7 separate regions of the Homo sapiens genome follow, and regions 1, 2, 4, 5, 6 and 7 are each linked to region 3. Evidence: promoter capture Hi-C in 16 types of primary human blood cells and fetal thymus (Javierre and others, 2016). All regions are on one chromosome and are shown on one strand. The core of a region is centred on a gene start or on the middle of the fragment in contact, and the rest is flanking DNA. Distances in the headings are between cores, read along the strand shown.

Region 1 (3,543 bases), core at 699-3,198, 170 kb after region 3:
GACAGTGTATCTCCTCCTGACCACATGCTGATGCATTTCTGAGTGTAGTGTCCCCATGATGCCTGACACACAGTAGGGACTCACTATACACTTGCTGAATTACTGAATACATTATGGATAGGAATTTGGGGGCAAAAACCACTGAGTCCTATTGCACTCTCTGTGTGGGGTGGGATTCCAGGACTATCTTCTAGCCACCCACATGATATATCCATTGTGGTGTTGTTGCCCATGGTGAGGGCTGAGCTTTGGTAGAAAAAGCACAAAACTTGGAATCAAACAGACCCAGTTACAAATTCAGTAAACTTCACCTCTTTGAAACTATTTTCCCATTCACAAAATGGGAATAAATAAAATCCATGTTTATGTGCCTCCATGGAATGTCTAGTCCAGAAATGGATACTGAATCCATGCTAACTTCCTTTCTTTTATCCCAATATATTTCTCTACCTTTAAAAAACTTGTATCTTTTTAAATTTACATTTTTATTTAAAATTAAATATATGTATATATATATACATATATATACACATATATATACATATATATACATATATATACACATATATATATATATATTTTTTTTTGAAACTGTCTCACTCTGTCATCCAGGCTGGAGTGTAGTGGCATGGTCTCAGCTCACTCAACCTCCGCCTCCTGGGTTTGACCAATTCTCCTGCCTCAGCCTCCCAAGTAGCTGGGATTACAGGTGCCCATCACCATGCCCGGCTAATTTTTGTATTTTTAGTAGAGATGGTGTTTCACCATGTTGGACAGGCTGGTCTCGAATGCCTAAGCTCAAGCGATCCACCCACCTCAGCCTCCCAAAGTGCTGGGATTGCTGGCCTTAAAATTAAATTTAAAATGTAACATTTTTACTATGGAAAATTTTCATTCACATACAAAAGTAGAGAGACTCATATAATGAGTCCCCATATATCCCATTATCCAGCTTCAAAAATTGACAGCTCATGGCCCATCTTAAAATCTTTTGATAAACATCAAACGTTCACTTCCCTCCTTTTTACTTTCCCTCCAGATTCTAGTGCCCACCCCCAACCAAGGGATTTGCCCTTCCAACAAAGAAATCAGGTTAACTAAGAGGCTTTGTCTTAGTAGAATCCCCAGAAATATTTGATCTGCTTTACTTTCTGCAGTCTGTATTATGAAATCAATAAGTTCTCTTCACTTTCCATATAAAAACAAAATTTAACGCTAAATGTGCTTTTTCACAGTATATGTGAATTCCAGAGTATGCTGGGCCTATTTTCAGCCGTCAGGAAATCTCATTTCTGGGTACACCCCCCTACCCTCAACTCTCCTGGCTAGGGTGATATGCTTACCTTGTATTCCCCATCCCCATGTAAATCTGCCAGCGCTGGAAAACAAAAGGGCCAAAACCAGAGTCTCAGAATCCCAGAGGCTTCACTACAGGACCATTGTCTGACTCCCCATCCCACTAGAACCCAGGGTTCCTGGTTCCAGAGACTCACCTAGGCAGGCAGAAAAGGTGTGGATATTGGCCATTGGGTCGTAGTGCGCATCCAACCACTTCGAATTGGCCTCATTGCTGGAAGTGGGGGAAAGACAGTTGGGGAGTGAGTCCCATGGGAGGGGAAAAAAAAACTTTGAGGAAGCTGGTACAGGTCACTCTGAACATAAGGTACAGAACGTCTGGGTACAAGTCCAGGCTCCGCCACTGGCTCACCGAGCGACCTCCAGACACACATATGCACATCTTAGGCCTCGGTTTCCCTATCTGACCTCTTAAGAGTCCTTCCAGACTGCCCGAGAACAGCAGGAGCCCAGAGCCCGGGGACCAAGGGACCCTCTTTACACGGGTGGGAAAAGAGGCCTTGAGGAGCCCTGCCTTCACCTCTCAGCTCCGCAGGCGTCGGAATCCGATGAGGACGCAGCGGCCATCTTCGCAGGCGTCGTCCTGGCAACCGGCCCCGCCCTCGCGTAACGCCCAATAGTGCCCGAGCACAGGGAAGGGCGAGTACAAAGGTTCCGGGCGCCAAGCTTTCCCACCCAGGCTCAGGAGGACGCGCTGGCCACCTTCCTGGGTTGAGGAATCTGTCTCAGATTCCTCAAAGATATTTATCTTTGCTCCTTCCCAGTCAGAGCCACCTTTCCAGGCGTCTGGGTCCTACAATCTCTGGGTCAGCCACAGAGCCCTCTGGCTTCCAGGGTTGGAAAGAAGCCCCTTCTAGCATTTATGAGCAGCAAAAAGAACTCCTCCTGTCTCCATCTTCATGGTTACCCGGTTGAAAAGGACCATGTCCTGCCTTGCTGCGTTACTGTAGAGGTCCAGGCCCAGAGAAACAAAACACGAGGGTTATGGGACAAATGCAGAGGATTCTGACTGAAGTTGAGTTTGTAGGTTCCCAGAACTTTTTTTTTTTTTTTTTTTTTTTGAGACGTAGTCTCGCTCTGTCGCTTGCGCTGGAGCGCAGTAGCGCGATTTCGGCTCACCGCAACCTCCGCCTCCCGGGTTCCAGGGATTCTCCTGCCTCAGCCTCCCGAGTAGCTGGGATTACAGGCGCATGCCACCATGCCCAGCTACTTTATTTTTTAGTAGAGACGAGGTTTCACCATATTGGCCAAGCCGGTCTCGAACTCCTGACCTCGTGATCCCCTCGCCTCGGCCTCCCAAAGTGCTGGGATTACAGGCATGAGCCACCGTGCCCGGCCCCAGAACATTTAAAAATGCAAGGAATGCCACAAAGGAGAGCTGCAAAAATTGTGCTATGTTCAGCTCTGTGACTGCGTATCCTCATCTAGAGATAATGTCAACATCCTGTTGTGGAAGGGAGGCTAAAAATGGCCCTCCTTGCCCCCTCCCCAGGCCTTGAGCCCATCACTCTGCTGGGAGTAAATGAGAAGACAGGCAAAGGCAAGGAGGAGCCACACACGCCGCAAAGATGGTGGTTGTCTCTAATATTTATTTGTCTGGTTATAAAATTAATATGTGAGGAGCATTGGATTTGGTGAGAACGTTTTGAACCCTAGCTGTCACGTGCCACCTGCGGGATCTAGACCAGTGACTTCTCAGAACTGCCATTTCCTCATCTGGTAGACAGGATGGTAAGCCCTGTCTTGCTCACTCCACGTATGGCAGTGCAGATGAAATGAGATCACAGAGGGGAAGCAATTGGCAGGCTGGAAAGTGCTGACAAATGGAAGGGGTTGTGTCACCACCCTCAGCTGAGGTAGTACCAAGGTCCAAGCTCCTGCCCCTCCCCCTCCCCAGCCCCTAAATACACACACGAATGGAGGGCCACTTGCAGCCTTGGTCTGATGGAATTGGGGGCAAGGCCACACATCTTCCTCAAGCTTGGCCAGATGGGGCCTCACTGGGGCCCTTCCAGAATCGGGCATCGGCTGTGGCCAGCTGTGTGAGGATCTCCTCCAACTCGGGTCCATCCTCTGGGAAACGCTCAGAGAAGGATCGGATGAGGCCAGCAGCTGACGCCTCGTATTCCAGAAGCTGCACGTCTGAGCCTGGGGAGGAGATGGAGAGAAAACAGCAGGGAAAGGTCT
Region 2 (2,700 bases), core at 201-2,700, 150 kb after region 3:
CTGGTCCATGGTCCTCTTCTCATCCTCCATCTTCTTCCCCCAGACAATCCATGTCCTGCCACAGCTCTGACCACCACAAAGAGGAGTCCTTGGTGTCCACGCTCGATATTGTGCATGTGTCTCCAGCAGCTTAGTGAGCACCCTCGCCTGCCTCCTGCTCATCTCCACAGGGAGGTCCCATCAACACCTCAGGCTCAATGCTGCGGAAACCAGCCTCATGGTCCTGCCTCCGTCACTGCCTCCCTGTCCATCAAGTCACCTAGGTCCACCCCTCACATCTCACCGTTTGCAGGATCACATGACTCTTCCCCAAGCCACCTCCAGGGCCCACCCCGCCCCCACCCCACTGTCCCTCCTCTTCCAGACTGGGCACCTCGGTCCCCCAGGCTGGCTTCGCTCTTCCGTTTATGTGTGAAGTGGCTTCTGCCATTCAAGAGTTTCACATTTTATGTGCTTTTTCTCTAGTACTTTTACAATTTATTTTTAATCTATCCAGAATTAATTTTTGTGGCTGGTATGAAGAAAAGGTCTGATTTTCTTCCTTTTTTTTTTTTTTTTTTTTTGAGACAGAGTTTCACTCTTGTTACCCAGGCTGGAGTGCAATGGCGTGATCTCAGCTCACTGCAACCTCTGCCTCCCGGGTTCAATCGATTCTCCTGCCTCAGCCTCCCGAGTAGCTGGAATTACAGGCACGCGCCGCCAAGCCTGGCTAATTTTTTGTATTTAGTAGAGACGGGGTTTCACCATGTTGGTCAGGCTGGTCTCGAACTCCTGACCTCAGGTGATCTGCCCACCTCGGCCTCCCAAAGTGCTGGGATTACAGGTGTGAGCCACCGCACCTGGCCGAAAAGGTCTAATTTTCTTTTCTAGAAGCAAGTTGTCCTGATTGTGTGTTTTTGGACAGTCTCACATCTCCCTGCCAATTCAAAATGACACCTTTCACACACTCTGACTTTCCACATGTTCAGGGTCAGTTTCTGGACTTCCTAATCCTGCCCTGATCTCCATTCTATTTCTGCATCCACACCACAGCTTCTGATTCCCACAGCTTGAGTTCATTTTGCTACCTGATAGGGTAAGTCCCCTCATTCTTATTTTCCCCAATCTTCTTAGGTTTACTCTTTGAATCAACTGGCCAGGTCCTTAAAACAAACCCCACTGGGATTTTAACTGCAACTTCAAGCTTTACAGCATTAGGTCTTCCCATCCTGCAACTTGGTAACTCTCTCCACTTAAGCATTCTTGAAGGTGGTCTTTTCTGTTCTTGAAGATAGTTTTACAACTTTATTAGACTTTGTACATTTTCTTTTTCTTTGAGACGGAGTCTGGCTCTTGTCACCCAGGCTGGAGTGCAGTGGCGTGATCTTGGTTCACTGCAACCTTTGCCTCCTAGGTTCAAGTGATTCTCCTGCCTAAGGAGATTACAGGCGTGTGCCACCATGCCCAGCTAATTTTGTATTTTTAGTAGCAAGGGGGTTTCACCATGTTGGCCAGGCTGGTCACGAACTCCTGACCTCAGGTGATCTGCCTGCCTCGGCCTCCCAAAGAGCTGGGATTATAGGCATGAGCCACCGAACCGGGCCTGCTTTCTTGAATCCAGGTCAACACCCTGTGCCTCTGCCTATATTACCCTGCCCTGCCCTGTCTGGGGGTCTGGCTATCATCTTTTAGGGTGAAGCCCAAAGTCACCTCGCTCTGAAGCCTTTCCCAAGCTTCCCAGGCAGAAGTCCTTACTCCCTCTGTGTGCTCCAAAAGCTCTTTGCAGAAACCCCTTCTACACATGATCATGAAGTTGGCCCCAGGTAGACTGAGTTCCTAAGGTAGGGACTATTATTTATTCTTTTTTTTTTTTTTTTTTTTTTTGAGACGGAGTCTCGCTCTGTCACCAAGGCTGGAGTGCAGTGGCATGATCTTGGCTCACTGCAACCTCCGCCTCCTGGGTTTAAGCGATTCTTCTGCCTCAGCCTCCCAAGTAGCTGGGACTACAGGTGCATGCCAACACGCCTGGCTAATGTTTGTATTTTTAGTAGAGACAGGGTTTCACCATATTGGCCAGGCTGGTCTTGAACTCCTGACCTCATGATCTGCCCATCTCCGCCTCCCAAAGTGGTGGGATTACAGGCGTGAGCCACTGCACCTGGCCCAAGGTAGGGACTATTCTAATTAAAGGCACCTGGCACAAGGCCTGGTGTAATCATAGGTACTGAATGAATGAATGAACGAACGATGAATGAATGAACAAATAAACGGGCAGGAAAAACTGGACAAGATGACACTGGTCAAATTCTACTTTTCTCTTTCTCTCTCTCTCTTTTTTTTTTTTTGAGAAAGAAGTATCATTATGTTACCCAGGTAGGTCTTGAACTCCTGGGCTCATGCTGTCCTCCCACCTCTGCCAAAGTGTTGGGATTACAGGCGTGAGCCACCATGCCCAGTCAAAATTCTACTTTCCTCATGAGAATTCCTGCGTTTGGAAGTGACTGCTCCCTTCCCTGAATTCTAAGGGCTCTTGCTGTCACCCACAGCACCTTCCAGCCTGAGGAACAGTGATTTGCAGGCAACGTGTACCTCCTAGGCTGTCCCTGGATTTGCAGAGGTGAGTGACCTACCTAGTTGGCCGAGATCTCCTCCCAGTGCACAGGGAGGCTGGGCAGCATTCCCCCAGCTTTGCTGTGTAGGAGCAGTGGAGGAGGAAGAAGG
Region 3 (3,572 bases), core at 530-3,029:
GAGCCATAATGGTGCCACTGCACTCTAGCCTGGACAACAAAGTGACACCCTGACTCAAAAATAATAGTAATAATAGTTAAGGGCCGGGCGAGGTGGCTCACGCCTGTAATCCCAACACTTTGGGATGCCAAGGCCAGCGGATCGCTTGAGGTCGGGAGTTCGACACCAGCCTGGCCAACACGGTGAAACCCTGTCTCTACTAAAAATACAAAAATTAGCTGGGGGGTAGCGCACGCCTGTAGTCCCAGCTACTCGGGAGGCTGAGGCAGGAAAATGGCTTGAACGCAGGAGGTGGAGGTTGCAGTAAGCCGAGATCGCACCACTGCCCTCCAGCCTGGGCGACACAGTGAGACTCTGTCTTTAAAAAATTAAACAAAAAATAAAAATAAAATAAAATTGGAAGGACAGTGCCTCTTCTGAAATGGCTGAGAAACAAAAAGAACTCAGGTAAAGAACATATCCAAGTAGCTGGGGTGGAAGAGGGCAGCCTGGGGAATGTGTCCCAGATGGTATCAGAGAAGCCATTATGGAGCCACTAAAATGAGGAATGGTGGCTGACAACCTCCCTGGCGGGCTCTACTAGGAGATAAACCCAATCCATCAATCTCCATAAAAGGCTACTCTTTGCTGGAAGGTGACAGTGGGGAATCAGCCTAAACTTCTTTTTTTTTTTTTTTTGAGACCGAGTCTTGCTCTGTCACCCAGGCTGGAGTGCAGTGACGCCATCTCGGCTCACTGCAACCTCCGCCTCCCGGGTTCCAACGATTCTCCTGCCTCAGCCTCCCGAGTAGTTGGGATTACAGGCGCCCGCCACCACGCCGGGCTATTTTTTGTATTTTTAGTAGACACGGGGTTTCACCATGTTGGCCAAGCTGGTGTCGAACTCCTGAACTCGTGATCCGCCCGCCTTGGCCTCCCAAAGTGCTGGGATTATAGGCGTGAGCCGCCGCACCTGGCACGCCTAAGCTTGTTTTTACCGCCAGGAGGTGCCCTTGGACCACAGCTGAATTTTGAATGCTAGACAGTCGGGAAACTCAGTTGCCTAGACTTCCAGCTTGGTGTGTACGAGGAGACCCTGTCCCACCCAGAACTAGGGACCTCGCTGGGCCTCTCCACCAAGTATTCCTCTGGCGTGCTCACCACAGACCAGGACTGTGATGGACACACAATGAGTGAGAGAGAATCAGACCACGGATACTCACGAGCAAACAAAACATGACTAAGCGTAGCCTGGGTAGCAATGCCTCTTAGGCCTGTCCCAGTTCTGCCAGGTTATCTTTCTGCCCCTTGGTTCTCAGTTTCCGTAGCAATAAATAACACCTCTGCAATGACAAACTTTAAAATAATGTTTAAAGCGCTACAAAACAATGACTAGTTTTGCTTAAAATGTGGCGCACCTGTATTTTTGAAATGTTGCCCCAAGCTGCCACAGAAGCCGGCCAGCCCGCTACAAAAGCCCCTTTTTAGGGCCCTCGGGGAGATTCCTCTGTCATTAGCTCCCCGCCCCCCTCAAAGGGCCCAAGAGCAGGACCCATTGTGGTGAGCGACTCCCCAAGGCCTCCGCTTTTCTAGGCAGTGGTTGCGTTCAGAGCCCCTCTGACGCAGCAGTGGCGACCCTTTCCAGGGTGGTGACTGGCTGGCTGGGGCTGGGGGTGGGCTGACCTCCGCGGCGCCGCGCCACCACCAACAGGCCCCGCCCCCGTGCTGCGTGGTCATTTGTATGCAGCCTCGGGATTGGTCACTCGGCTCCCGCGAGGGGAAGGGGAGGGAAGCAGCGCGCACTCGCGCGTGCGTGAGCTGGCGCGCGAGAAAGGGCCCGGTCGCGTCCAGGCTCGAGCGGCCGTCGCCATTTTGTAAGGTTCTCTCTGACGTGGGAGCCGCCGTCGCTGCCGCCACCCGGAGGTGCGAGGGGGTCGTGTGTGTGTGATGTGGGGAGCTCGGGGGCGGGTCGGGCCGGGCCTCCGGCAGACTGCACGGCCCGGATTTGGGTTTCTCATTTTGCAGCGGGAGGTCTGGGAAGACAACGGGAGGAGGCGGGGCCGGGTCTCCGGAAGGAGGCGGGGCAGGGGTCGGGTCGAGTCTTTGTTGGGGCGAAGAAGCTGGAGGGTGGGCCGCTGGGGGCGAGGTGGTTGGTCCCCGGTTTGGGGGAAAGGGGACTTTTTTCTTTTTAGAGTATCTTGAAAGGCGCTAGTGCGCGCAGGAGAGGTACACAGATTTCCCTCCAAAACCTTGTTACCAGGCGCACTGCGATTGATGCCCCTTGCCTTTGCTTGGGCTTTTCTCTTCCCTCATTTTAAGACATGAAGCAGCTAATTCTGGTATTTCATTGCGCTCCACTTCACGGAGATGATAGACTGGGCTATGCATGCTGACCCTCGACCTCCTGTTTGCATGTCACGCATAGCTCGCACTTCTCGAGAACAAACCGCCCTTCTTCTATTGAGGAAGAATAATGAATGTCTGTACGAGGGTCTTGAAGGTGCAAGAACTTTGGAGGATTAGACGAAAATGCTGCAGTGCACCGAAATTTCCCACCACACCCCTGACTTTTGAAGTCTTGTGTTTCTCTCCCAGGCTCTTGTCAGGATGGTGAAGCTGTTCATCGGAAACCTTCCCCGGGAGGCTACAGAGCAGGAGATTCGCTCACTCTTCGAGCAGTATGGGAAGGTGCTGGAATGTGACATCATTAAGAATTACGGCTTTGTGCACATAGAAGACAAGACGGCAGCTGAGGATGCCATACGCAACCTGCACCATTACAAGCTTCATGGGGTGAACATCAACGTGGAAGCCAGCAAGAATAAGAGCAAAGCTTCAACCAAGTTACACGTGGGTAACATCAGCCCCACTTGTACCAACCAAGAGCTTCGAGCCAAGTTTGAGGAGTATGGTCCGGTCATCGAATGTGACATCGTGAAAGATTATGCCTTCGTACACATGGAGCGGGCAGAGGATGCAGTGGAGGCCATCAGGGGCCTTGACAACACAGAGTTTCAAGGTGAACTGCTCTGGGCCTGGGTAGTAGCGCCGAGTGGGGTCTAGCTCAAAACAGGCAAGAACACAAGACTATAGAACTTGCTGGGTGGTCTCTTCCATTCTGTTTTAGCTGGAAATAATAGATTATGTTTACCGCTCTTAAGCATAATTTACCCCTGGGGAAGCAAACACTTCCCCTTTTCAGGTTTGCTAAGATGTTGCTCACCGACTGCATAGAATCACAAACTGTGGGTTACTTTACCCTGCGGGATTCTTGCATTGATTCGAGTGCTGTTGGAAGTGTAATCTGCTTGGGGAAACGAGTACCTCATGAGAGAAGGGAGGATAAAGGTCCGTGGCTTACCTGCTTCTTTGGTGATGATCAGGAAGCCTTATATTTGAGGGTTTAAGTGCTTAAGATTTATATTCTTTACTGCTTTGGGTGGATACTGGTGGGAAAGAAGAAAAAAGACATCTAGAGGAAGCCCTATATTATAAATCTGGGTGGCAAGTCTGGATCTGCGGGAGTATCTTTTTGTTGATCAAAGTTGTGCAGTCTCTTCAAGCAGAGTCAAAAAAACATGCCATGGAGTGTT
Region 4 (3,166 bases), core at 144-2,643, 220 kb after region 3:
AGAGAAAAAAACAACAGCAGCACATTCTTTCTGGGCTGGGAGATTTGGAGAGGAGAAGGAAGAGCTAAGATGCTAGGTTCTGCCCTTGAGGCCATGCCAGACGGGGAGGGTGGGGTTGGGAAAAGACAGATCCCTCACATGGATTTGGGGATCCAGAGCAGAGGCGACCTGGGCTTCAGTTCTCGGTCTCTAGCTTTAGAGGAAAGCCCTTGAAGCAAGGCCTGAGAATAATAATCCATGGCTCTTGGTCTCTTAGTTCTACTTCCTGAGTCATCTTTCATTTTCCATAAAAGGTAGTCTGTGTTTGCAGCTGAGTAATTTTCTTGGCCTGCATCCTGTCTATAGAAGTTTGAGGGTTCGAATGCCTCTTTTCCATTTCTGTTGTCTCTGTCCTTTACAGTCCAAGTTGTCAGTGTTTCTGCCAATACAATTCTCTTAAAAACTTTGTAGATTTCTATGGACCTTATTCACTTCATTAGACTATGCCCACAAATCTCTTTGAGATAAGCCCCCCTACCTTGGGCTCATGCTGATAGACAAATCCTTTAACGTTTCTAGAAGCCCTTATTGTTTGAATGGTTCTATTGCCTTAGACCTGAAGTCTTAGGGAATTTACAGGCATACTGTTGGCCTCTTGGCTTCAACTTTATACCATGTTTTTCTGATGTGATCTTTTTCCAGAAGCCATTTCTTAATTTTAGCATTGTTTTTGGCTGGAGAGGCTGGGAATTTTCTTCTTCTTCTTTGTTTGTTTGTTTGTTTGTTTTTGAGACGAAGTTTTGCTCTTGTTGCCCAGGCTGGAGTATAATGGTGTGATGTCGGCTCACTGCAACCTCCACCTCCTGGGTTCAAGTGATTCTCCTGCCTCAGCCTCCCAAGTAGCTGAGATTATAGGCATGCATCACCACTCCTGGCTAATTTTGTATTTTTAGTAGAGATGGGGTTTCACCTTGTTGGTCAGGCTGGTCTTGAAGCCCTGACCTCAGGTGATCCACCTGCACAGCCTCCCAAAATGCTGGGATTACAGGCATGAGCCATTGCACCTGGCTGAGGCTGGGAATTTTCAAAATCATCAAATTCTAACTATTTTTGGTTTAACAGAGCTCCTGTCAGTTTATAACTTGCCTCTCAACTCTCATGTTTTACTCTAAGCAGGAAGAAGAAATAAGGTACTACCTGTAACATTTTGCCTGGAAATCTCCTTAGCTAGATCACATATTTCATTAGGCACATCTTCTACCTTTTTCTTCTTTCTTCCCTTCCCTTCCCCTCCCTTCCTTTTCTTTCCTTGCCTTTTGTCAGAGTCTTGTTCTGTTGCCCAGGCTGAAGTGCAATGGTGCATTACTTGCAGCCTTGAGCTCCTGAGCTCAAGCAATCCTCCTGCTTCAGCCTCTGCAGTATCTGGGACTACAGGCACATGCTACCATGCCCAGCTTAGTTTATTTCTATTTAAAAACATTTTTTTAGAGATAGAGTCTAGCTATGTTGCCCAGGCCGTTCTGAAACTCCTAGTGATCCTCCAGCCTCAGCCTTCTGAGTTGTCGAGATTGCAGGTAGGAGCTACCATACCAATCTACACATTATGAAGGATGACAATGTTGCTAAATTACCTGCCACTATACAACAAGGATCTCCTTCCCTTGAGATCCAATAATATTTTCCCACTTTCCTTTCAGCTTTCACTATCAGCCTTCTCTAAGGCCATCAGTCTTCTTAAAGTAGTCCCATGATCCCTCACTCCTGGTATTCACACCTTTATGTCAACCCCTTCCCTTGAATGTGGGTGGGCAGGACCTATGACTTTCTTCTAACCAACAGTATATGGCAAAGGTGATGGGTTGTGCCTGATTACATGCACATAGTGATGTTATTATGTTATATAAGTTTGTAGCACCTGTCTTGCTGGGGTCTCTCTCACTCCTTGCTGGCTTTAGAAAAGCAAGCTGCCATTTTGTGCACTTCCCATATGGGGAGGCCCATGTATCAGGGACCAAGAGTGATCTCTAAGAGCTGAGAATGGTTTGCAGCCAGCAGCCAGCAGAAGGAAAAAAAAAAAAACAAAAAAAAAACCTCAGTCCTGGAGCTGCAATTGAATCTGCCAACAAAAGTGATTCTGGGCTGGGCGTGGTGGCTCACACCTGTAATCCCAACACTTTGGGAGGCTGAGGTGTATGGATCACCCGAGGTCAGGAGTTCAAGACCAACCTGGCCAAAATGGTGAAACCCCATCTCTACTAAAAATACAAAAATTAGACAGGTGTAGTGGTGCACTCCTGTAATCCCAGCCACTAGGGAGGCTGAGGCAGGCGAATTGCTTGAACCCAGGAGGTGGAGGTTGCAGTGAGCCGAGATCGTGCCACTGCCCTCCAGCCTGGGCAACAGAGTGAGACTTTGTCTCAAAAAAAAAAAAAAGAGGATTCTTCCCCAGTTGAGTCTCAGATGAGACCACAGCCCTAGCAGACTCCTTGATTGAAGTCATGTGACACCCTATGCTGAGGACTCTGCGTAGCCATGCCTGGACTCCTGATCCCACAGAAACTGAAGTAATAAATGTGTGTTGTTTTAAGCTGCTATGTTTGTGGTATATTGGTATACAGCAGTGGATGACTAATACAAAGGCTTTCAGACTTTTGCTAACACTATACTTAAAGTCTTTCTAGCCTCTGCTCACTACTCCCACATTTTTAGGTATTTTTTATTGTCCTCACTCCTGGCATTAAATCTTTTTTTTTTTTTTTTGGCTGGGCACGGTGGCTGACGCCTGTAATCCCAGCACTTTGGGAGTGAAAGTGAAACACAGTGAAACCCCGTCTCTACTACAAATACAAAAAAATTAGCCGGGTGTGGTGGCGGGTACCTGTAGTCCCAGCTACTCGGGAGGCTGAGGCAGGAGAATGGTGTGAACCCAGGAGGTGGAGCTTGCAGTGAGCCGAGATAGCGCCACTGCACTCCAGCCTGGGCGACAGAGTGAGACTTTGTCTCAAAAAAAAAAAAAAGAGGATTCTTCCCCAGTTGAGTCTCAGATGAGACCACAGCCCTAGCAGACTCCTTGATTGAAGTCATGTGACACCCTATGCTGAGGACTCTGCGTAGCCATGCCTGGACTCCTGATCCCACAGAAACTGAAGTAATAAATGTGTGTTGTTTTAAGCTGCTATGTTTGTGG
Region 5 (3,515 bases), core at 699-3,198, 210 kb before region 3:
GCTTCTCCAGCCCCTGGTGTTAGGATCTGTATAGGATCTGGTTATTTGTAGGCAACCTGGGTGTATTAGATTCCTACAGCTGCCATCACAGGGTGCCAAAAGCTGGGTGAAAACAACGGTGACTTCTTGCCTCACATCTGGAGGCCAGAAACCCCAATTCAAGGTGTGAGCAGGGCCGTGCTCTCTCGGATGGCTCTGGGAGGGTCCTGCCTGGCCACTGCCAGCTTCTGGTGTTTGCCAGCAGTCCTTGGCCTTGCCTGACTTGTAGCTGCCTCACTCCAGTCATGTGGCCGTCATCTCCTGTGTCTTCACATCTTCATTCTGTGTGTGTCTGTGTCCAGATTTCCCCCTTTTTATAAGGACACTAAGCATATTGGATTAGGGCCACCCTAATGACTTTATTTTTACTTGATTACCCTATTTCCAAATAAGGTCACTTTTTTTTTTTTTTTTTTTTAGACAGAGTCTCACTGTTGCCCAGGCTGGAGTGCAATGGCGCCATCTCGGCTCACTGCAACCTCTGCCTCCCGGGTTCAAGCAAATTCTCCTGTCTCAGCTTCCCGAGTAGCTGGGATTATAGGCAGCCACCACCACACCTGGCTAATTTTTTGTATTTTTTGGTAGAGATGGGTTTCGCCTTGTTGGCCAGGCTAGTCTTGAACTCCTGACCTCAGGTGATCAGCCCACTTCAGCCTCCGAAAGTGCTGGGATTACAGGCGTGAGCCATCGCGCCTGGCCCAAATAAGGTCACATTCTGACCTAGGTGCTAGGGGTTAGGACTTCAGTGTATCTTTTTTGGTGGGGGACACAATTCAACCTCTAACACCGGGTGACACCCGCTTGTCCTGAGCTTGACAGGTCCCGAAGTCCCCAAGGCCTCTGGGAGGCCCTCTCTAATCCAGCCAGCATTCATGTCCTGTCATCTTGGAACGAGGGGAATTGAGTGGGGAGCAGGTCCTGTGAAGCTCTCCAGCAGGGGTGGGGTGGCCTGAAGAGGGTCGGGAAATGTCCTGGGCCACCTGCAAGTGTCTGCTGGGTCCTGGCATCTTCCTCCCTGCAAAGATTGTCCAGTTCTGTTTAGAATTGAGTCTTTGGTGCCCCTAGCCTCTGTCGCCCCTCGCAGCCCTGAAACTCAGCTTCCCTGGTTCCCATTGCCAGGCTGCGTCTGAGTCCTTTTGGGCTTTAGTGACAAAATACCACAGGCTGGGTGGCTTTTAAACAACAGACATTTATTTCTCACAGTTATGGAGGCTGGAAGTCCAAGATCAAGGTTTCAACATATGGGTGTGGGGGGCACAGGCACGCTCTGCATTAGTCTGGGAGGTGCTTTTTGCTGACCTTGTCCTTCAGACCCTCTCTCTGTCCTGTCAACATCACTTTGGGCTCTAATCAATATGTATGGGACATTTGTGTGTCCCACTAGTGTGTGTGTGCTGTTCCCAGGAGGGGCCAAGCCTTACTAATCTTTATCTGAATGCTCCATAATATTTCTAGGTAAATCTTTTTTTTTAACTAATTGATTAATTATTTTTTGAGACAGAGTCTTGCTCTGTTGCCCAGGCTGGAGTGCACTGGGACCATCATGGCTCACTGCAGCTTCAACCTTCTAGGTTCAAGCAATCCTTCTGCCTCAGGCTTCCAAGCAGCTGAGACTATCTATGGGCACCACCATGCCCAGCTAATTTTTTTTTTTTTTTTTTGAGATGGAGTTTTGCTCTTGTTGCCCAGGCTGGAGTGCAATAGCACGATCTCAGCCCACCGCAACCTCTGCCTCCCACGTTCAAGCGATTTTCCTGCCTCAGCCTCCCAAGTAGCTGGGATTACAGGCGTGTGCCACCATGCCCGGCTAATTTTGTATTTTTAGTAGAGATGGGGTTTCTGCATGTTGGTCAGGCTGGTCTTGAACTCCCAACCTTAGGTGATCCACCCGCTTCAGCCTCCCAAAGTGCTGGGATTACAAGTGTGAGCCACGTGCCAGGCCACACCCAGCTAATTTTAAAAAGTTTTTTTTTTAATTTTTTGGCAGAGACAGGATCTCAATATGTTGCCCAAGCTGATCTCAAACTCCTAGACTCAAGTGATACCCCTGCCTCGGCCTCTTAAAGTGCTGAGATTACAAGCATGAGCCACCACGCCTCACGGTGAATCTTAACAGCCTCATGCCACTCTGCAACCTCATTGTGACCTGAAGTATTTCTTCACTGATTCATTCCCTCAGACATTTATTTAGTTCTGGTCTTACGCACTGTACAGAGTGCCAGGGAGATGTGGGGACAAAAGAGACCAGGGATCCTGTGCCCAGGGCCCTAACAGTGTCTATTAAAGGAGACAAGACGGGTCAACAAATCTTTATAACATTAAATGCTCTTTGCTGAGGACACAGACGCCACGGAGACCTCATGGAGAGCCCCCTGAGCAGGACGATGGGTGGGGCACAGACAAGGACAGAGCTGAGGGAGGTGGCTGCCCGGGGAATATAGGGAAGGCATTCCTGAGCCTACTCCTATAGGATGTGGAGGAATGGGGACAAGTGACCTTCCCATGTGAGCCCTGCCCACACCCCGTGCTGCAGGGTCGGCAGGAAGCTGGCTCCTCGTGCGCCAGGGGGCAGTGTTGGCCCTGAAATTCTCACTGCTTTCCAGTGAGGCTGGGATGGAGCAGCCACCTCACTGCAGGCCCTCGGGACCCCTCACTCTGCTTTCTCTGAGACCCCCTTTGTCCCCCAGTCCACAAGTCCCGAGACCATGGCGCCAGTCGCCTCGGTGCCACCCTTTCCCCCTCGGCTGCTCCTTTGAATAGAGGGTTGCCAGGGCGATGAGGAGCCCTGCTGGCACTGTTCACTGCTGTTCGTCGCCGCAGTGCCACTTGGAGCAGCCGGCGCTCCTGGGGGCCCAGAGCCCGGACAGCTGAGCCTCGGCGAGCACCCGTGCTGTGTCTGTTTCCGTCTTTGGTATTGTCTCTCTCCTGTCTTCTGTGTCTGTCACCTGCATTGTTTCCAGCGTCCTCCCTTCTGCCCCCCCTGCCCAGAAATCTCAGCCTCAGTCTGTCCTCTCTTGGGTGCTTTGATATCAGCCGTGGCAGCCCTGAGAGCCAGGTGGAGTCGTTCTTTCATCTGTCCCTCTTGGCTGCCAGCCCTGGGGCCCGTCGGACATGTTTAGAGCAGAGCCGCCTGGGGAGAGCGGCCCCATCCGTCAGAGCTGCCACCGCCGCAGCCCCGAGTGCTCTGCCAAGAGCTCTTTCTTTCTGGTTCTGACCTGCTTTCACTGGCAGCTGTGGAGCCCAGCTGGGGCTAGGGGCACAGCCTGGTGCGGGTGCTGGTGCTGGGGGCAGCTGGGCCCATAGGAAGTAGGTGTGTGGAGCTTTGTTGGTTCGGAGGTTCCTGGGGCCTGTTTCTGAACCACACTTCTTTCTTCTCTGCCCTCTGCTGCTCTCCAGCACACCTCTGAGGATTTGCTGAGGGACCCAGGTGCTCTGCTGGGCTTTCAGAACCAACTTGCTGGCCACCCGCCCCTGAA
Region 6 (3,231 bases), core at 119-2,618, 140 kb before region 3:
GAATTATATGCATAAGGAAGAGGTGTGTTATCAGCCATTTTTCCCTATTAACTATTTCCCTATTTACCCAAACACACCTACTAGGAGGTAAGACTAAGCAAGCTGGTTACAGTGATCCATCTAAGCTAAAGTTTGAGTTGTAGGCTAGATGCAGTGTTACAAGATCACCCAGGTGACAGAAGAGGAGAGGAAGGGGCATTAAGGGAGGAAGGGCTCCTGGGCCCTGCCTGCCATATATGCTTGCTATCTTTTTCTTAGAGAATAGGAGAAAAGAGGCTGTGAATTCCTTATTACCTTGGCAGCCTGGTGATGTTGCTCCAAGACCTTGTCCACAGTGAATTGGATGGAACCTTGCACTACACTGTGGCTCTCCACAAGGATGGCATTGAGATGAGTTGTGAGCAAAGTATAGACTCCTAAGGGGAGGGAGAAGGTAAAATTATCACTATATCTACCTCCCCTCACTGTGCATCTGCAAAAGCTAGTCTTAAATTACCAGATGTGGCCTGTAATCCCAGCACTTTGGGAGGCCGAGGCGGGCGGATCACGAGGTCAGGAGATCGAGACCACGGTGAAACCCCGTCTCCACTAAAAATACAAAAAATTAGCCAAGCACGGTGGCGGGCACCTGTAGTCCCAGCTACTCGGGAGGCTGAGGCAGGAGAATGGCGTGAACCCGGGAGGCGGAGCTTGCAGTGAGCCAAGATTGTGCCACTGCGCTCCAGCCTGGGTGACAGAGTGAGACTCCGTCTCAAAAAAAAAAAAAAAAAAATTACCAGATGTGTAAGATTTAAGACACTTGTTTACTAATACACTGATGAATTTCTTTTAAATCCAATACTGAGTACAACGACTGAGATACTGCAGGCCCTCAGAATCAAGCTAAACAGAGGTGTACAAATTATCACAGTAGTTCAGGAATGATAACACTGGTTTCTGAGGAATCCGAGTTCTTTAGAAATGTTCAGTAGGGCTCAGAACATGGTATCAGGCTTGCATTATCCAAGGATTAACCATGAGCGAGGATAACTACTTCAAGATTGCTGTTCATGTGCTTTGAGTCAGGACTGGGAGTGGGAAAGATGCCTCTTGGAAGAAGAGACCCCTACATATCCACAAATAATTACCTTTTTTTAGACAAAATCTCCCAGCAACTTACACACCTACCTAATTCCCACTCATAAATCTAAGAAAGCTCAGGAAAATTAAGGTGGAGAATGACATTATTTTTTAAAGAAACAAATAAGGGATCCTGTTTAATTCATAGCAGAAATATATACCATGTACTATAAACAACAATCCCAGTGACTCCCAAAGGAGAGGAGAAAGGGAGAAGCAAAGGTCCTATAGAGTGTGTCTAACCCTACTCTACGTCTATGTGAACATCACTGTTGTGGCAGTGCTTTCAGACGTACTGTGGTAAAGAAAAGGTTAAAATTCACAGAGATGACACAGAACTGTTGGTATGAGGTCCTTTTAAATGGGAGATTATCTCTGTTAAAGTAACCACAGGCACCACTGCTCAGTCTCATTCAGAAAAGCTAATATGTGAGAGCAACAGGCAAAAAAACTATGCCATCAAACAATAGGCCACCATTTAATGATCCCGATGCAGCAGGCACAGGAAGCCAAATTTACAGGTCACCTGGAGAAAATCCTTCTTGATTATTCTTTGTTTTCAGTGTTCAGAATTCTATGGGAAGCAGCCTAAAACTGGCTGGCTTTTTCCAGGACTGTATTAAAAATGCAAACCAGAAGAACATTTTCTACCACAAGGCACCATGATCCTTTCCTGGTAGGGAACGTAATATATGGTAAGCTCAAAAGGATTCTGGAGCTGGAGTCAGGGAGAACATAGATTCTAGGGCCAATTCTGCCATCAACTAGTGGTGATGAAATCTTTTCTTCAGTATAGAAAATGGCTTTATACCACCTGCTCTCACAGGTATGTTGTGTAGATAAACTGCGATAATGTACACAAAGTGTTTTGTGGGTTTTGTTGCCCAGCCTGGAGTGCAGTGACACGATCTTGGCTCACTGCAGCCTCGACCACCGGGGCTCAAGTGATCCTCCCACCTCAGCCTCCCGAATAGCTGGGACCACAGGTGTACACCACCACCATGCCTGGCCAATTTTTTTTTTTTTTTTTTTTTTAAGACAAGAGTTTTGCTCTTGTTGCCCGAGCTGGAGTGCAATGGCGTGATCTCGGCTCACTGCAACCTCCGCCTCCTGGATTCAAGTGATTATCTTGCCTCAGCCTCCCGAGTAGCTGGGATTACAGGCGCCTGCCACCACACCCAGCTAATTTTTGTATTTTTAGTAGAGACGGGGTTTCGCCATGTTGGCCAGACTGGTCTCAAACTCCTGACCTCAGTGTGATCCGCCCGCCTCGGCCTCCCAAAGTGCTGGGATTACAGGTGTGAGGGACCATGCCCGGGCAAATTTGTATATGTAGAGACGAGGTCTCGCTGTGTTGCCCGAGCTGGTCTTGAACTCTTGGGCTCAAGCGGTCCTCCTGCTTTGGCCCCTCAAAGTATTGGGATTACAGGAGCCAAGCCACAGTGCCTAGCCCATGAAGTGTTTTGAAATGTACACTGTACAGTTTCAAAATATTGCTATTGCTATGTTAATGTATCATCTAGATTGGTATTTTCCATAGTTTGGTTTTAAGAACAGCTTCAAGAAATCAGATCTCTTTTGAAAGCAGACATTTAATTTAAAAGTCAAAGTTCATTCCTAAAACTTTTGACCACCAAATGCTTTTGACATTGGGGAAAATAATGAGTTAGTCACAAGAAAAAAAAAATGAGTTAATCACAGAAAAGTTACCATGACAAGGTAGGTGGGCATAAGGCCAATTAAGTAATTTTCTTAAAGACACATGGAAACAGACTAACTTTGCACCATCTGTTTCCTAAAAAAGAGGCTCTAGAGAAAGCTTTTAAGGATATGAGAAAGAAAAGGGGGAAGAGAAGGTAAAATTATCACTATGTCTATATCTACCTTCCCTCACTGTGCATCTTCTTCAGAGGCTAGTCTTAAATTACCAGATGTGTAAGATGGGAGAGCCTTACTGTGTTTACTAATACATTGATGAATTTCTTTTAAATCCAATACTGAGTACAACAACTGAGATACTGCAGGCCTTCAGGGTCAAGCTAAACAGAAGTGTACAAATTATCACAGTAGTTCAGGAATGATAATACTGTGTTTCTGAGGAATCTGAGTTCT
Region 7 (3,298 bases), core at 283-2,782, 190 kb after region 3:
TCAGGGAAGCTACTGAATGTGCCGATGGGAAGAAAGAAGGGCACAGACTCAGTTATGGGAAGATAGGGAAAGGTCCTGGGGAAGGCAAGTCCATGCATGGCCTAGAGGATGGGGAGGAGGTGGCCAGGGGACAAGGAGAGGCTGGAGGGGGTTCCGCATGAGAAGCAGGGAATGGATTGTGCAAAGACCTGGACAGGGGCCAGGCGCGGTGGCTCACGCCTATAATCCAGCACACTGGGAGGCCGAGAGGCACGCGGATCACCTGAGGTCAGGAGTTCAGGACCAGCCTGGCCAAATGGCGAAATCTCATCTCTACTAAAAATACAAAAATTAGCCAGGTATGGTGATGGGCACCTGCAATCCCAGCTACTGGGGAGGCTGAGGCAGGAGAATTGCTTGAACCCGGGAGGCAGAGGTTGCGGTGAACCAAGGTCGCACCACTGCACTCTAGCCTGGGCACTCCAGCCTGGGCGATACAGCAAGACTCTGTCTCAAAAAACAAAAACAAAAAGACCTAGAGAGGGTCCATCAGAACTGGATGCTGTTGAGCATGGCCAGAGCACAGAGTCTGAGTGGGAGGATGTGGAGATGAAGCAGGGGCTGGGGTGCGAGTGGGGAACAAAGAGCCAGGTGGCAAAGGTCTTCATAAAGGCCTGGACACTTCTGTCCATACTATTTCCTCTCTCCTGGGAATGGACCCCAATTTCCCCTTGAGAATACCACCCCAGGCCCCACTACTACTACCCCAAGTGCAGGTGGTTTGGGAAGGGCCAGCCTCTTTTTTTTTTTTTTTTTTTCCTTGATCTGGAGCTTCGCTCTGTCACCCAGGTTGGAGTGCAGTGGTAAGATCTCGGCTCACTGCAACCTCTCCCTTCCAGGTTTAAGCGATTCTCCTGCCTCAGTCTCCCAAGTAGCTGGAATTACAGGCACACGCCACCACGCCCGGCTAATTTCTGTATTTTTAGTAGAGATGGGGTTTCACCATGTTGGCCAGGCTGGTCTCGAACTCCTGACCTTAGGTGATTCGCCCACCTTTGCCTCCCAAAGTGCTGGGATTACAGGTGTGAGCTGCCATGCCCGGCCTGAAGGGCCAACCTCATCGCCTGACTCCAGGGTAGGCTTGAGACCAGGTTGAGCCAATCAGAGACCTGTCCCTTGCCAGCCCTCAGGGATTGGTTCACAGACAAATAGGGGACTGATTTAGAGAAACTAGAGCCATTCCCAGGACTTATGTAGAAAATCCTGGGAGAGAAGGATGCTCTTTCTGAAGGAGTGGCAGAGTTGGTAGGACCTGAGCCACCCAGGTCCGGAAATGCCCAGGAGGGAGCAGAAGGGAAGCCTGGGGCTAAGCTCACCTGAGCCAAGCACAGAAGCCAGCCGCACCTCGTAGTAGGGCTTCCCTTCTCCATCGACCTCTTTGAAGAGCCGGGTGTTGTAGGCACTGAGGTTCTAGAAGAGACCAGGACAGGGGTTAAGAGTGAAGTCTGGAGAGGGCAGTGGGGTGGGAGGAAGGAAAATGGGTCAACCCTAGGGGAGAAGGCATGGAGGCAAAGCAGGCTGGGCCTTCTGGGTTGGCTGGGAGCAGGAGTGGGAGAGAGTGGGAGTGGGCAGCCCAGGGCCGACTCTCCTGCTCTGCTCAGGACACTGTGCACTTCTACTAAGCACTGACTGCAACCACTGTGCCAGGCACTGCACGGCCTCTGCGAACCCAGGGCTACTGGAGGTGGGTACCACTTCACAGACATGGAAACTGATCACATGGCTGGTGAGTGGCTGAGCTGGGAGCACCACTGACACATGGACCCCGGAGCCTCACACCCCTGTGGCCTGAGGTCCTGGTTCCTCGCCCTGCCCTGAGGCTGTCATTAGGCTCTATAGCCTGGGGTGGGCAGGGGTCGCGCCTTCCCTAGTACACAGGGAGTAGTCAAGCAGAGACCCAGGAGTGGTCACCAGTTGTGAGGGGGCTGGGACTAGGAACCCCACCAAACCTCTGCTACCTTGAGCTCCCCTAACCCCAAACCTGTGAGTCCAGAAAGTCCTGGGCCAATTTGGCATCTTCCATGGTACAATTCCCAGAGAAATAGGTGGTGATTCCCTGTTGGGGAAGACAGGGGACATGAGAAAGAGGAGTTGCCAAGGTCAGGGCTGCAGGGACGTCATATTCCCAGGCTTCCCGCCCCTCCCTCCTTTCAGCAGCCTCTACCCCTTACCCCTCCATCTACCTCCAGGGGAAAAAGTTATAAAACAAACAAACATGCTCATCTCCAGTGTTGCTGCAGCTCTGCCCAGGCCTCTCTCTGGCTGGCCCACCCCTAAGGCTTGCCAAGGTCCTCATCCCATGCAACGGATGTGGCCTCCAGAGGTGGGAAACCTGGGACCCCCCTCCTTCCCTGCCATCCCCTCCTCAGCTCCCTCCACCTCCAGCCTTCCTCTCCTTCCCTCCATCAGCACATGGCATCCTGTGTACAGAATGTCAGATCTGGGAGGGCATTCAGAAAGCATTCGACCCAACATGCTTACCATTCTACAGATGACAAAACTGAGGCCTGCAGTGGGGAGCAGCATTGCCTCAGGAGTGTGAGGCAGAGCCCACTGCCTCCCCATCCCGTGTCCTTCCCTCCTTACCAGGTGGCCTTGAAGGATTCCCTCCACTCCCTGTCCCCTCGGGGGAGTCAGGGGCCTCACCTCCTTCCCCAGTCCGAGGTGTCGAAGCCTTGGCTCCAGAGAGAACATAAGCTCCCCGCAGGTCTGCCAGAGGCCCCTGACTTCTTCTGGGTGCTGCTGAGCAGCCTCACTCCCTAGGATCACCCGTTCCAGCTTTTCCTGCAAGGAAAGGGAGGCCAATGGCCCAGTCACACCACCCAAACCTGCCTTCCAGAGCCTCCCTACCCACTCCCAAGCTCTTCTCCTATGATCTAAGAGCTCTGGCTCATTGTGTGGTCCATGGACCAGCAGCACTTGTAGGTCCTGAGAAATGTCAAGCGTCCATGTGTGGTGGCTCACACCTATAATCCCAGCACTTTGGGAGGCAGAGGAGGGAGAGATGCTTGAGGCCAGGAGTTCAAGACAAGCCTGGGCAACACAGAGAGACCCCATCTCTACAAAGAATAAAAAAAATTAGGCCAGACGCAGTGGCTCATGCCTGTAATCCTAGCATTTGGGGAGGCCAAAGCATGAGGATTGCTTGAGCCCAGGAGTTCAAGACCAGCTTGGGTAACACAGTGGGATTCTGTCTCTACAAAAAATTTTTAAAAATTAGCCAGGTGTCATGGTGACAGGCATCTGTGGTACCAGCTAC

Evidence for each region. Contacts are between HindIII fragments. The CHiCAGO score rates a contact against its expected background, and 5 or more counts as called.
Region 1: a contact is called between the fragment with the promoter of BBS1 here and the fragment with the promoter of RBM4B in region 3, in 16 of 17 cell types (M2 macrophages, M1 macrophages, M0 macrophages and 13 more). The highest score is 17.5, in M2 macrophages.
Region 2: a fragment that was not itself captured here is called in contact with the fragment with the promoter of RBM4B in region 3 in 1 of 17 cell types (endothelial precursors); the score reaches 5.9 in endothelial precursors.
Region 4: a fragment that was not itself captured here is called in contact with the fragment with the promoter of RBM4B in region 3 in 7 of 17 cell types (M2 macrophages, naive B cells, erythroblasts and 4 more); the score reaches 9.8 in M2 macrophages.
Region 5: a contact is called between a fragment that was not itself captured here and the fragment with the promoter of RBM4B in region 3, in 2 of 17 cell types (megakaryocytes and endothelial precursors). The highest score is 5.6, in megakaryocytes.
Region 6: a fragment that was not itself captured here is called in contact with the fragment with the promoter of RBM4B in region 3 in 3 of 17 cell types (endothelial precursors, M0 macrophages and M2 macrophages); the score reaches 6.5 in endothelial precursors.
Region 7: a fragment that was not itself captured here is called in contact with the fragment with the promoter of RBM4B in region 3 in 14 of 17 cell types (M2 macrophages, M1 macrophages, naive B cells and 11 more); the score reaches 23.8 in M2 macrophages.

What each region holds. Positions count from the first base shown.
Region 1 is chr11:66,509,040-66,512,582 of GRCh38, reverse strand. BBS1 (Bardet-Biedl syndrome 1) reads right to left here and starts at 1,948. Exons shown (of 17, transcript NM_024649.5): 1 at 1,877-1,948; 2 at 1,494-1,570; 3 at 1,344-1,378. The coding sequence starts at 1,923. It overlaps DPP3 (dipeptidyl peptidase 3), which reads right to left. Exons shown (of 18, transcript NM_130443.4): 18 at 2,926-3,504. The coding sequence ends at 3,332. RefSeq lists an enhancer at 2,037-2,086. The HindIII fragment of the contact is 5,944 bases long and covers 1-2,024 here.
Region 2 is chr11:66,526,832-66,529,531 of GRCh38, reverse strand. All of the region lies in intron 13 of BBS1 (Bardet-Biedl syndrome 1), which reads right to left. It also overlaps a transcript of ZDHHC24 not described here. Among named protein-coding and RNA genes, the nearest start is that of BBS1, 18 kb to the right of the region's middle. The HindIII fragment of the contact is 529 bases long and covers 1,186-1,714 here.
Region 3 is chr11:66,676,094-66,679,665 of GRCh38, reverse strand. RBM4B (RNA binding motif protein 4B) reads left to right here and starts at 1,779. Exons shown (of 4, transcript NM_031492.4): 1 at 1,779-1,902; 2 at 2,575-2,998. The coding sequence starts at 2,587. RefSeq lists silencers at 1,577-1,856, 2,057-2,166. The HindIII fragment of the contact is 1,797 bases long and covers 969-2,765 here.
Region 4 is chr11:66,460,248-66,463,413 of GRCh38, reverse strand. No RefSeq gene overlaps it. Among named protein-coding and RNA genes, the nearest start is that of PELI3, 5.1 kb to the left of the region's middle. The HindIII fragment of the contact is 5,660 bases long and covers 1-3,166 here.
Region 5 is chr11:66,882,430-66,885,944 of GRCh38, reverse strand. The region is part of intron 3 of PC (pyruvate carboxylase); the gene reads left to right. Among named protein-coding and RNA genes, the nearest start is that of LRFN4, 27 kb to the right of the region's middle. RefSeq lists enhancers at 2,494-3,231, 3,232-3,515. The HindIII fragment of the contact is 6,228 bases long and covers 1-3,515 here.
Region 6 is chr11:66,818,828-66,822,058 of GRCh38, reverse strand. It overlaps TOP6BL (TOP6B like initiator of meiotic double strand breaks), which reads right to left. Exons shown (of 15, transcript NM_001302084.2): 10 at 295-416. Among named protein-coding and RNA genes, the nearest start is that of RCE1, 23 kb to the left of the region's middle. The HindIII fragment of the contact is 3,144 bases long and covers 1-2,940 here.
Region 7 is chr11:66,486,065-66,489,362 of GRCh38, reverse strand. DPP3 (dipeptidyl peptidase 3) reads right to left here. Exons shown (of 18, transcript NM_130443.4): 4 at 2,686-2,823; 5 at 2,021-2,095; 6 at 1,356-1,449. Among named protein-coding and RNA genes, the nearest start is that of DPP3, 7.3 kb to the right of the region's middle. The HindIII fragment of the contact is 8,189 bases long and covers 1-3,298 here.